Linked DNA regions of Homo sapiens: all the other regions are linked to region 2. The links are contacts of gene promoters, found by promoter capture Hi-C in blood cells and fetal thymus (Javierre and others, 2016). All regions are on one chromosome and are shown on one strand. The core of a region is centred on a gene start or on the middle of the fragment in contact, and the rest is flanking DNA. Distances in the headings are between cores, read along the strand shown.

Evidence for each region. Contacts are between HindIII fragments. The CHiCAGO score rates a contact against its expected background, and 5 or more counts as called.
Region 1: a contact is called between a fragment that was not itself captured here and the fragment with the promoter of DDX25-AS1 in region 2, in 7 of 17 cell types (naive CD4 T cells, non-activated CD4 T cells, total CD4 T cells and 4 more). The highest score is 11.5, in naive CD4 T cells.
Region 3: a fragment that was not itself captured here is called in contact with the fragment with the promoter of DDX25-AS1 in region 2 in 1 of 17 cell types (naive CD4 T cells); the score reaches 5.4 in naive CD4 T cells.

What each region holds. Positions count from the first base shown.
Region 1 is chr11:126,201,333-126,204,476 of GRCh38, reverse strand. It overlaps RPUSD4 (RNA pseudouridine synthase D4), which reads left to right. Exons shown (of 7, transcript NM_032795.3): 6 at 149-246; 7 at 820-2,381. The coding sequence ends at 1,059. Among named protein-coding and RNA genes, the nearest start is that of RPUSD4, 8.7 kb to the left of the region's middle. The HindIII fragment of the contact is 2,886 bases long and covers 448-3,144 here.
Region 2 is chr11:125,937,500-125,940,746 of GRCh38, reverse strand. DDX25-AS1 (DDX25 antisense RNA 1) reads left to right here and starts at 1,705. Exons shown (of 4, transcript NR_199024.1): 1 at 1,705-2,061. The HindIII fragment of the contact is 1,410 bases long and covers 438-1,847 here.
Region 3 is chr11:126,217,280-126,220,503 of GRCh38, reverse strand. The region is part of intron 1 of FAM118B (family with sequence similarity 118 member B); the gene reads right to left. Among named protein-coding and RNA genes, the nearest start is that of FAM118B, 7.1 kb to the right of the region's middle. The HindIII fragment of the contact is 255 bases long and covers 1,181-1,435 here.

The DNA.
Region 1 (3,144 bases), core at 641-3,140, 260 kb before region 2:
CTATATTATTCGTTATACTTTATTATAGTTGGGACTTGGCCAGTTTACTGCACTTTGATGTAACACGATTTGAAGCAGATGCCAATACTGGTATTGTTTCTGTAGCTCCTCACGAGTTTTCTCTCTTTCTCTCTCTCTCTCTTTTAAGGAATAAAACATCAGCTTCGAGTTCACTTGTCTTTTGGATTGGATTGTCCAATCCTTGGTGATCACAAGTACTCAGACTGGAATAGGTTGGCCCCCCAGGTAATACTAATTTGACCCAATGTGCAGCAGATACGGGAGAGAACTTAGGCGTTCCTTTTCTTAAAACTCTGAAATGAGTTACAACAAAGCCTACTGATTGTCTTCAGACATGATACCAAGCTCATTATCTTGATTTTAGAGAAATTTAGGAGCAGTTGGTTACTGTCCTTGTGGAACTGCAGGATCTGTTAGTGAAAAGCTTACTGTTACATTTGTTTATTCAGATTTTGTTGGGAGGCTGTGGACAAGGGGAGGGGTGTTTCTGAAGGCTGGGAGCAGCTTTTCATGGTGCTACTAAAAAACCGCAGGGAAAGCCTTTTCATCCTTATACCACAGCCCATTCTCTTGTTAGGCCAAAAAGCACTGGCCAAAAAGAATGTCTTGGTGTGGTCATTTTTCCCTTACCTGAGTTCTGAGCCGTTCTTAGACATGCCACTGAAGCAGACTCTCCATTACTGTGTCTTCCAGGGGGTTAGTTTTGGTTCCCTGTAAGTAGAAGTGCCCTGACCTTGCATGTTCGTCAAGGGTGGACTGTTGGCCTTGCTCTCAAGGGTCTGTCCTTTCTTTGTATAGAAGCTGTCTGTGGGCACCCTGAAGAAGCTGGGGCTAGAACAGTCGAAGGCCCGCTACATCCCCCTTCACCTGCACGCCCGGCAGCTGATCCTGCCTGCCCTGGGGTCCGGGAAGGAGGAACTCAACTTGGTCTGCAAACTTCCTCGCTTCTTTGTGCATTCCCTGCACCGCCTGCGTTTAGAGATGCCAAATGAGGATCAAAATGAGAACAATGAAGCCAAGTGTCTGGGAGCACAGTGAAGACCATGGGAGCACCCTGGCACCTGGGAGCACAGTGAAGACCCTGAGAGCATCCTGGCACCTGGGAGCGCAGGTTGGCCCCTGAACTGTTCTTTGTTTACAGGACTCTGCTAACTTCTCACTTGGAACAGACTGCGTAAGAGCCAGGTGGGATAAGGTAAAGCAACTCAGCTGCTACAGGGCTTTTAATGGAGAACAAAGTCTATTTACTGATAGTTTGGCTGCACTGTGGAAAAGCCTGCTGGAAGTCTCCCTGCCGTGGGCTCTCATTGCCAATATGGAACAGAGCCCAGGGCCAGGCAGACTGGGGCAGTGACTGGAAAAGGAAAACTAAAGGTCAGAATCCGGGATCAGGAACTGTTTTTATCCAGCAGTGAAGCTCTTGAGCTCTTAGGAAGGTTCCCGTGGTTGGAAAGAACATAATGGTTAACAAATATCACAGCATCCAGGGATTGCCCAGCTATAGTGTGGGTGCCCTACTGAACTCTGATTAGGGAACCTGTATAAGGGTATTGAGTGTGAGGTTGAGGTGGGACATTTGCTGAGCAAGGAGAACCGATGTGAATGGCAGGCAGATAACATGCACACATGAAGCTGGCTGGGTGTAAGGCAGTAGCGGGGAGCGGCATGCTGTCTAACAGCTGTTAGCTCCAGCTGGTTGTTGCCATGTGGGAATGGATTTTCTCATTTCTTCAGAGAAGCTGGAAACCTAGATATTTATGTGAAACCTCCCAGTGTATTGCCAACTAAATCAAATTTTTAAAGATGCTTAGGCACCTAAGCAAATAATACTTAGAGGTTGAATTTGGTCTACAGGCTAGCAGTTTGCAGTCTATGTTTAATGAATGGTATAGAAGTTTGGGGAAAGGTGCCATCTTGAAAATTCTGGATCAGTGGTTGGCATTTTCGCTGCGTGTAGTATGTATCCTTTCTAGGCTTGGAGATGGCTTTGGTTGGTCCGTGAATGTAGTTATGAGAGTGCTGCCATTAAAAAATCAAAAATCTCTGTTGTGGAAGCGTATCTTCTGTTCTTAGGTCTCAGGAAGGAGAGGGCTATACTGAACACCATTAGGGATAGATGGAAATGACCTTGGCCTCCCTGCTCAGCTGGTCCATCTAGTTTCCACCTTGTTTCTTGCAAACAAATACACCTCACACTACTTTTTCTTTCTGACAGAGTTGGAGTGACAGCACAGTTAGGGGGGTACACCCCGGGACAGTCTTTATATGTTCCCTCTGTATAGATGATGCCACTTTCTAGCCCTTTCCCTGTCTCCATGGTACCCATTACTGTGCATAATAAATTTAACTTTGAAAGCACAGACGAGATGACTATATTTGTTTATATAAGACCTAAATATTTTTGCTGTTATTTCTGTTTCTAGTAAACCATGCTAGTCAAGAAAAAGGAACAAGAATGTGACACTTAGGAAATAGTGATAATTGACATTAATTCAGGGAAACAGATGAACAGGAATACCCACAAGAATGGAGAAGAGGCTGGGCGCGGTGGCTCACACCTATAATCCCAGCACTCTGAGAGGCCGAAAAGGCCGAGGCGGGCGGATCACCTCAGCCCAGGAATTCGAGACCAGCCTGGGCAACGTGGTGAAACCCTGTTGCTACAAAAAATACAAAAATTAGCTGGGTGTGTTGGCACACGCACACCTGTGGTCCCAGCTACTCAGGAGGCTGAGCTAGGAGGATCACCTGAGCCCAGGAGGTTGAGACTGTAGTGAGCCATGATTGTGCCACTGCACTCCAGCCTCGTGACAGAGTGAGACCCTGTCTCACAAAAAGGAGAACAATCTTAGAGGAACAGATGATGGAAATAAAAGAACTGGAAAATGTAGAAAAGTAGGAGCTAGTCAGGATACATTTTGGAGAAGTAACAGATGATTTATATTCTCATATATAAATATGGTCTCCTCCAAGATGTAAATCTAGTCTTTAATTTGGCAAACTGAATATTTACTAGGCTGAAGGTATCTGGGGATATTCACTCATCTCAGGGAGCTCTCTTTAGCTGGGAAAATTCAGTTAGCTGTGTGGTTTACTGACAAGTAAGTGTGAGGCGGGACTGTT
Region 2 (3,247 bases), core at 456-2,955:
ATGTGAGAATAGTTTTTTGATGATGTAAGACAATGTTTCTGTTTTTTAATGAATACTAAAACACTCAGCAATGAGATGTCCCGATGTCTTTAGCTTACCTTAAACTACTACGCAAAAACAGACCAGAAGCTGCTTTCACCAGGCCTCTAGCCCTGCATTGCCATGGGGATTCTTGCAGGGAAGAAGCTGTACATTAACATCTTCCTAATTTTGTAAAAGTTGTGTGAGGTATGCCGGGTGGTGGAAGGGGTGAGATGGAGAAAGGAGAGTGCCTTTGGGGGCAGTTAGAGCAGAGAGGAAGAGATTTCCCTGAGTTTGGGGACAGTTCAGAGGTCACTAGGTACCTGGGAGAAGAAGAGTCTGGAGACAGCAGGCCAGGACCCCAGAGCGTACAGGACTGGAGAGCTATTGCTGACTGCACAGGCCCACAGAAAGCTTGGACAACGAGCAGGCCAACAACCACCACGATGGACCAGCAGTTAGAGGCCTTCCCTTGGTTTCATCCCTCCTAAGTTTCTTAGTCAATTTGTGTGGCTATACTAGAATACCTGAGACTGGGTAATTTATAAAGAACAGAAATTTATTTTCTTACAGTTCTGGAGACTGGGAAGTCCAAGACCGGGGCTCCAGCAGGTCCGGTGTCTGGTGAGAGCTGTTGTCTTCCAAGATGGCGCCTTGTCACTGCATCTTCCAGAGGAGACGAAGGCCATGTCCCCACATAGTGGAAGGCAGAAGGGCAAAAAGGGATAAACTCCCTTTGTCAAGCCCTTTTATAAGGGCAGCTACTCCCATTCACAGGGGAGGAGCCCTCGTGGCCCAACCACCTCTTGGAGACCCCATCTCTTAATACTACCACACTGGCAACACCTGAATTTTGGGGACACATTTAAACCATAGCAATAAGCCCCCGGGTTCTGGTGGGACGCTGGAAAAAGGCAGGAGCCCCAGGAATGAACTCAACTCTACTTGATTTTAGTGAAATAGAGAAATGGATATTTTTGTGCACCTAAGTTTATAGAGTAAGAGTCACACCTACTGCACCACTACGATTATTATTATTAGCGTTGCTGTTGTTGCTGTTTCCCGGGCTGTGACACTAGGCCTCAGTGCATTTGAGTGCTGTCTGATATGAGCAAAGTGCTCAGGACAGCTGCAGTTCCTTCCCCCAGGAAAGACTCCTAGCCCTTCAGTTCCCAGGTTCTTCCTGGGTTCTGCCCCATCTGGCAACAGTGCTGCTACCAGGCCGGGAATGACAATATAGGGACAGTTCTCTGTAGTTGAGGGTCTGGTTGGAGGTCCCTGGTAGGAGTCTGTCTGGACCCAGCACAGGGGATGCCCACCAGGCCAGCCCTAGCCTTCAAGGGTGGGCCAGACTTTTGAGGTCTGTTGGGGAAGCCAGGGCCCAGGGAAACTTCTAGCTGCTCTCTCCATCTTCAGGCTTGTCACCTCCTCTCTATCCCCTCCCAGTGCCCTCCACCCAACCTGGCTAGATTCTCCAAGTTCCCTGGCTGAGGAGCAGGAAGGAGTGGGGAGTTTCCATAATGTCTCTGTAGAGCTCCAGGGTGAGGCTTGGCAACTGGAAATTGTCAGTCGTCTCCTTGGCGACCAGCAGCCAAATAATTCTGGGAATGGAGGAGGGAAGGGAGCTCTCAGCAGGGCGGCCAAGAGAGGCAGCCCTCACTTCCCAGAAAACTTCAATTCCTCATTACCTGTGTCAGCTGGGGTTCAATCAGGAGACAGAAACCACACCAGTTAGTTTGAAAAGAGAATTCAGCATAAGGAACTGATAATGAGGTATGAAGTTGTTAATTAGGTAAGGAGAGGGTAAGGAGAGAGAAGAGTAAGCTTTCATGGGGGTTGCACCTGCAGGAGCAGCTACCACTCCAGGGCTGGAGAACCCTAAGGAAGAGTTTTGAAGGAGGGTTCCAGAGCCTGTGACCCAGACATCTGAGGAGGGGGCTCAACTCAGCGGGAGCTGGGGTCTCCGGGTGTGAAGAAAGGACTCCTGCACCCAGACCTCTGCGGAAGGGGCACCTGCCAGCTGGTGCTGGGGTCTCTCAGGTAGGGATGCAGGGCTGGGGTGGGGTGGATGATGGAGCTGCAAGTGTTGGGAACACTGCAAACTGGATCAGGTGCTGCTCCAGGAGGGGCCTGCTGTTCCTGGGGTGAAGATGTGTTGCTGGGGTGCCCTCACAGGGAACACACAGATGCAAACAGGAAGGAGCCTGTCCACACTTCCTGTCCCGCCTGCAGCCTCCCTCTAGTGACTGGCAAAACAGAAATGGAGTTGGTAGGGTCCAAGCCCAACATCGCAAAACTGGCTGCAGAAGATACAGGTCCAGAGCTGAGAAATAAGAACCTTGTTACCCCATTGCTGGAAGTTCTGGTCTTCCAGCTTTGTCGTTAGTGGTAAGAGCAATGCTGAATGCGTAGTGGGTGCTCACCTAATGTTGTTGTCTGGCCACTGCCTCAGCTGATTCCTGAAAAGGCACATGGACAGGTAAGGGACAGGCCCATCCCTCCCCTTCTTGGCTTTATTCTGGCCTGTTTTGAAGTTACTGACATTCACAGGCTCTGATAGCTGGAAGGAATTTTTTAATGGTAATGATGAAAACAACAGCAGCAAAGAAATATTACAAGTGGCCTAAGGAAAACTATAAAGTTACTGGGATCAAATCGTACATTAAAAGTACAGGACAAGATAAATAGCCCCATAGGGCAGAAATAGAACAAAGTTCAGAAATTTATCCCCGTGCGTATGGATTATAGGGTACAATAAAGGTGGTATTTCAAACCAGTGGATTCAAACTATGGTTTCTTTAATAAATTGTATAGGCACAGTTGACTCTATGTCTGAATGAAAAAAAAAGGTTACGACCTCTACCTCATTAAGTTATTAAAACAAAATTTCAGATCCGAAAGATTTAAATATAACATTTAAAACAGTTTCATGAGGAAAAATATTAGAATATATGATCTAGAGTTTGAAGAGATTTTTCTAAATAAAGTAGAAAATTCAGAAGCTACAGATGAAAAGAGAGACATAAGAAGCTTAAATTTTAGAAAGATAAAATATACCGCTGGGATCATGAGGTCAGGAGTTTGAGACCAGCCTGGCCAACATAGTGAAACCCCATCTCTACTAAAAATACAAAAATTAGCCAGGCATGGTGCCACGTGCCTGTAGTCACGGCTACTCAGGAGGCTGAGGCAGGAGAATTGCTTGAACCCAGGAGGTGGATGTTGC
Region 3 (3,224 bases), core at 59-2,558, 280 kb before region 2:
GGCCTTGTCAAGCAATCCTCTTGCCCTGGCCTCCCAAAGTGTTGGGATTACAGGCATGGGCCACCAAGCCCAGCCAAGCATCAGTCTTAAAAAAAAAGTGGCCAGTGAAAACAATTGAGGGTATTAAAAAAAAAAGAGAGAGAGAGAAAACAGAAAGCAGGTTAGGGAGACTAAAAACATACTTTCATAAGGAAGTGAAGGAGGTCAGTGGAAGACCAAGGAGGACTCTCAGGGAGCAGCCAGAAAGCTGGGCAGCCTGGGCCCAAGGGAGGCAGGTGGAGACTTCATTCAGAAAAAGAGAGCACCTTTCCCCCAGATTTGAAAGTAACAGATCACTGCAGGAAATATGCAGAAAGAGCAAAATGAAGCCCCCCTTCCTCCAACGTGGAGCTAACCACTGCTGACATTCGGATTTATGTGGAGAAAAGCAGTTTTTAAGAGGAACTCTCGGAATAAGTCTGAGTATCTTGGGTTCATGTTCATATCAATTCTAAAAACTTCATTCATTAGAGTTTGCCCCTGCTTTCACACCATAAATCTCCATACATATAAGCCCCCCCTTTAAAAAAAATTCTTCCTTCAATGTCTTATTAAAATTAACTTAAAAAAAAAACTCAAGCAGCTCGAGCTGCTTTTTTTTTTTTTTTAAGTTAATTTTAATAAGTACAGTAGTGCATGTTTTCTGCAGTAGAAGAAAGAAAGAAGCAGTCTATTTCTAGTGGCTGGGGGTAGGGAGGTGCTGGGGAAGAGCAGGAACCTAGGAAGAGTCAGCAGAGGGTAGCCACGCCCCAGCCCCATGGACGAGACTCCTGAGGAATCCATAAAACTGCGAAGTACTAAGTTCTGGCAACAGATCTCAAACCTGCTCCTTAGCAAGAGAGCTAAAAAGAGAGTGTTTCTTATGTACTCTGTTAATTTGACTCTTAAGGCATATAAACAATAGGGAGACCCTGTCTCTACAAAAATAAAAAACTTAGCCAGATGTGGTGGCATATGCCTATGGTCCCAGCTACTTGGGAGGCTGAGGTGGGAGGATTGCTTGAACCCAGGAGGTCGAGGCTGCAGTGAGTCATGATCATGCCCACTCCAGTCTGGGCAACAGAGAGAGACTCTCAAAAAAAAAAAAAAAAAAAAAAAAAAAAAAAAAAAAAAAAGATAAACAAGAGCTGAAGGATAAGCTTCCAAAATAAACGAGGAAAACAAGAAATCTGTGCTTTTCCTTATGTGATATTCCTGTGCTGCATTCCATGACACTAAGAATATAAAACATGATAACTTCTGTCCTTACGTGTTTACTTCTTAATCTTTTTCAAAGTACGCTATTAAAATGGCAACAGAGGAGTTTTTCTTTTTTCAAGGTATAAAACCAAGAATGTGAGGTGCAGGAGATAAGCATTCAATTTTTCAATGAATTTTTGGAGATGGAAAGCAAGCTTTAAATGCAGATCTGAAAATACGGATTGGCATAAAGTCTATTTAACTAATGCGCAAATTCTCTTCCTCACCTCCTATTTTCATCTATTTTCTCCACCCCCAAATCCAGAGGTTTAAAGAAAAATGAACCGAAATCTGAAATGGGTCTGGAGTAAAATACATCAGCAGGAGCAATGAAGAACTGAAAATACAGATTATGTCAAAAGATGCATACTAAAAGGTTCTCCAAGCCTCCATCCTTGTCCCAGCAACCAATGCACTGTCAGCTAAAGAAATATTAGCAAACATATACATTTGTACAAACATACACACAAAATCCATATATACCAGCCACCCTATAGTAATGGCCACCACCCAACAAGACCCACGCTGGGAACTTAAAATAACAAAAAACAAAACAGAAATGAACAGTCAGAATCATGAGACATTCAAAGAAATCCCACAATAAAATAATTCATTTATTCCTTAAGTTATTAAGCATCTATTCATCGCCAGGCACTGTTTCAGAGGCTGGAATTATAGAGGTAAACAAAAAAAAACCCAAAATCCCTGCCCTCATAGAATGTTTATTTTAGTGGTGAGGGAAACAAGTAAATAAATATGTGGGATGCTAGATGGTGGGAAATGCTTCTGGAGAGAAACAAAGCAGGGAAGTGAGATGGGGGTCTGCACTTCTCAATCCAGTGCTCTCTTCACTGAGGTGACATTTAAGGAAAGACTTGTGGATTCATCCAAAGTGAGGTGTGGGAGCAAGTCGCTGGATATCTGAGGGAAGACACATCCAGACAGAGGCACAGGTGCAAAGGCCCACATCACCTGAAGGAAGTGGAGCCTGTGCAGAGAGGAAGAAAACTCAAATACTCCAGCGGGCCCTCTGAGCCCACCATATCCACATAACAAGAATGGATATTACAAAAAGGTATCAAAGAAAAATTAAAGATTGAGCAAAAAATCACAGAAATAGTACAAGAAAACATCCCGGAACTAGAGGACGTGAATTTCCAGAATCAAAACCGTCTGTGAGAAGCCAGCACAACAGCTGAGTAAAAGACCCATACCCTGGTGTTAATACACATCATAAAACTGCAGAACACCAGAGATAGAGAATATCCTCAAAGCTTCCAGAAGGGGAGAAAACAAACAAAATACGGTCACGTAAGAAGGATTTAAATCACCACATCTCTAGAGCAATTACAGATGCCTTCAACATTCTGAGAGAACCTTATTTCCAATCTAGAATTATATAACTGCCAAACTATCAAACAAGTGTGTGGGCAAAACCAGGTCATTCAAATACTTCTTAGAAATAACTGAAGTATATGCTTTTAAAAAATAAAGACATAAGCCCAGAAAGAGGAAGATACGGTTCCTGCACAGGAAAGGGCAGGTCCAGGAGGACCCCAGGCAGCAGTTCTTGAGAGCAACAGTAAAGGCAGGAGGAGGGGGCAGGGCTCCAATAAACAGGTGATACATTTGAGCTCACAGAAAATGTTACTGATAAGAATGTGACAAATACATTGGAGCATGTGGGAAAAAAATTAACAGTAGGTACATGAAAAACACAGGTGAAGGCCAACCTACACACCAGGAGGAACACACTGTAATAGATCATCCAGCTCAACAGTGAACAGTATTTGACAGAGGTGTAAGTACATAAAAGCTACCTGTTTTAGCAAAAAATTACAATAGAACTATATTAGGGGATAGAGGGCATGGAAAAATAGGAAAGTGGTGGGATGCAAGAGCTAAATACAAATCTATCACAACAAGAAATCAACAGGCCAAACATG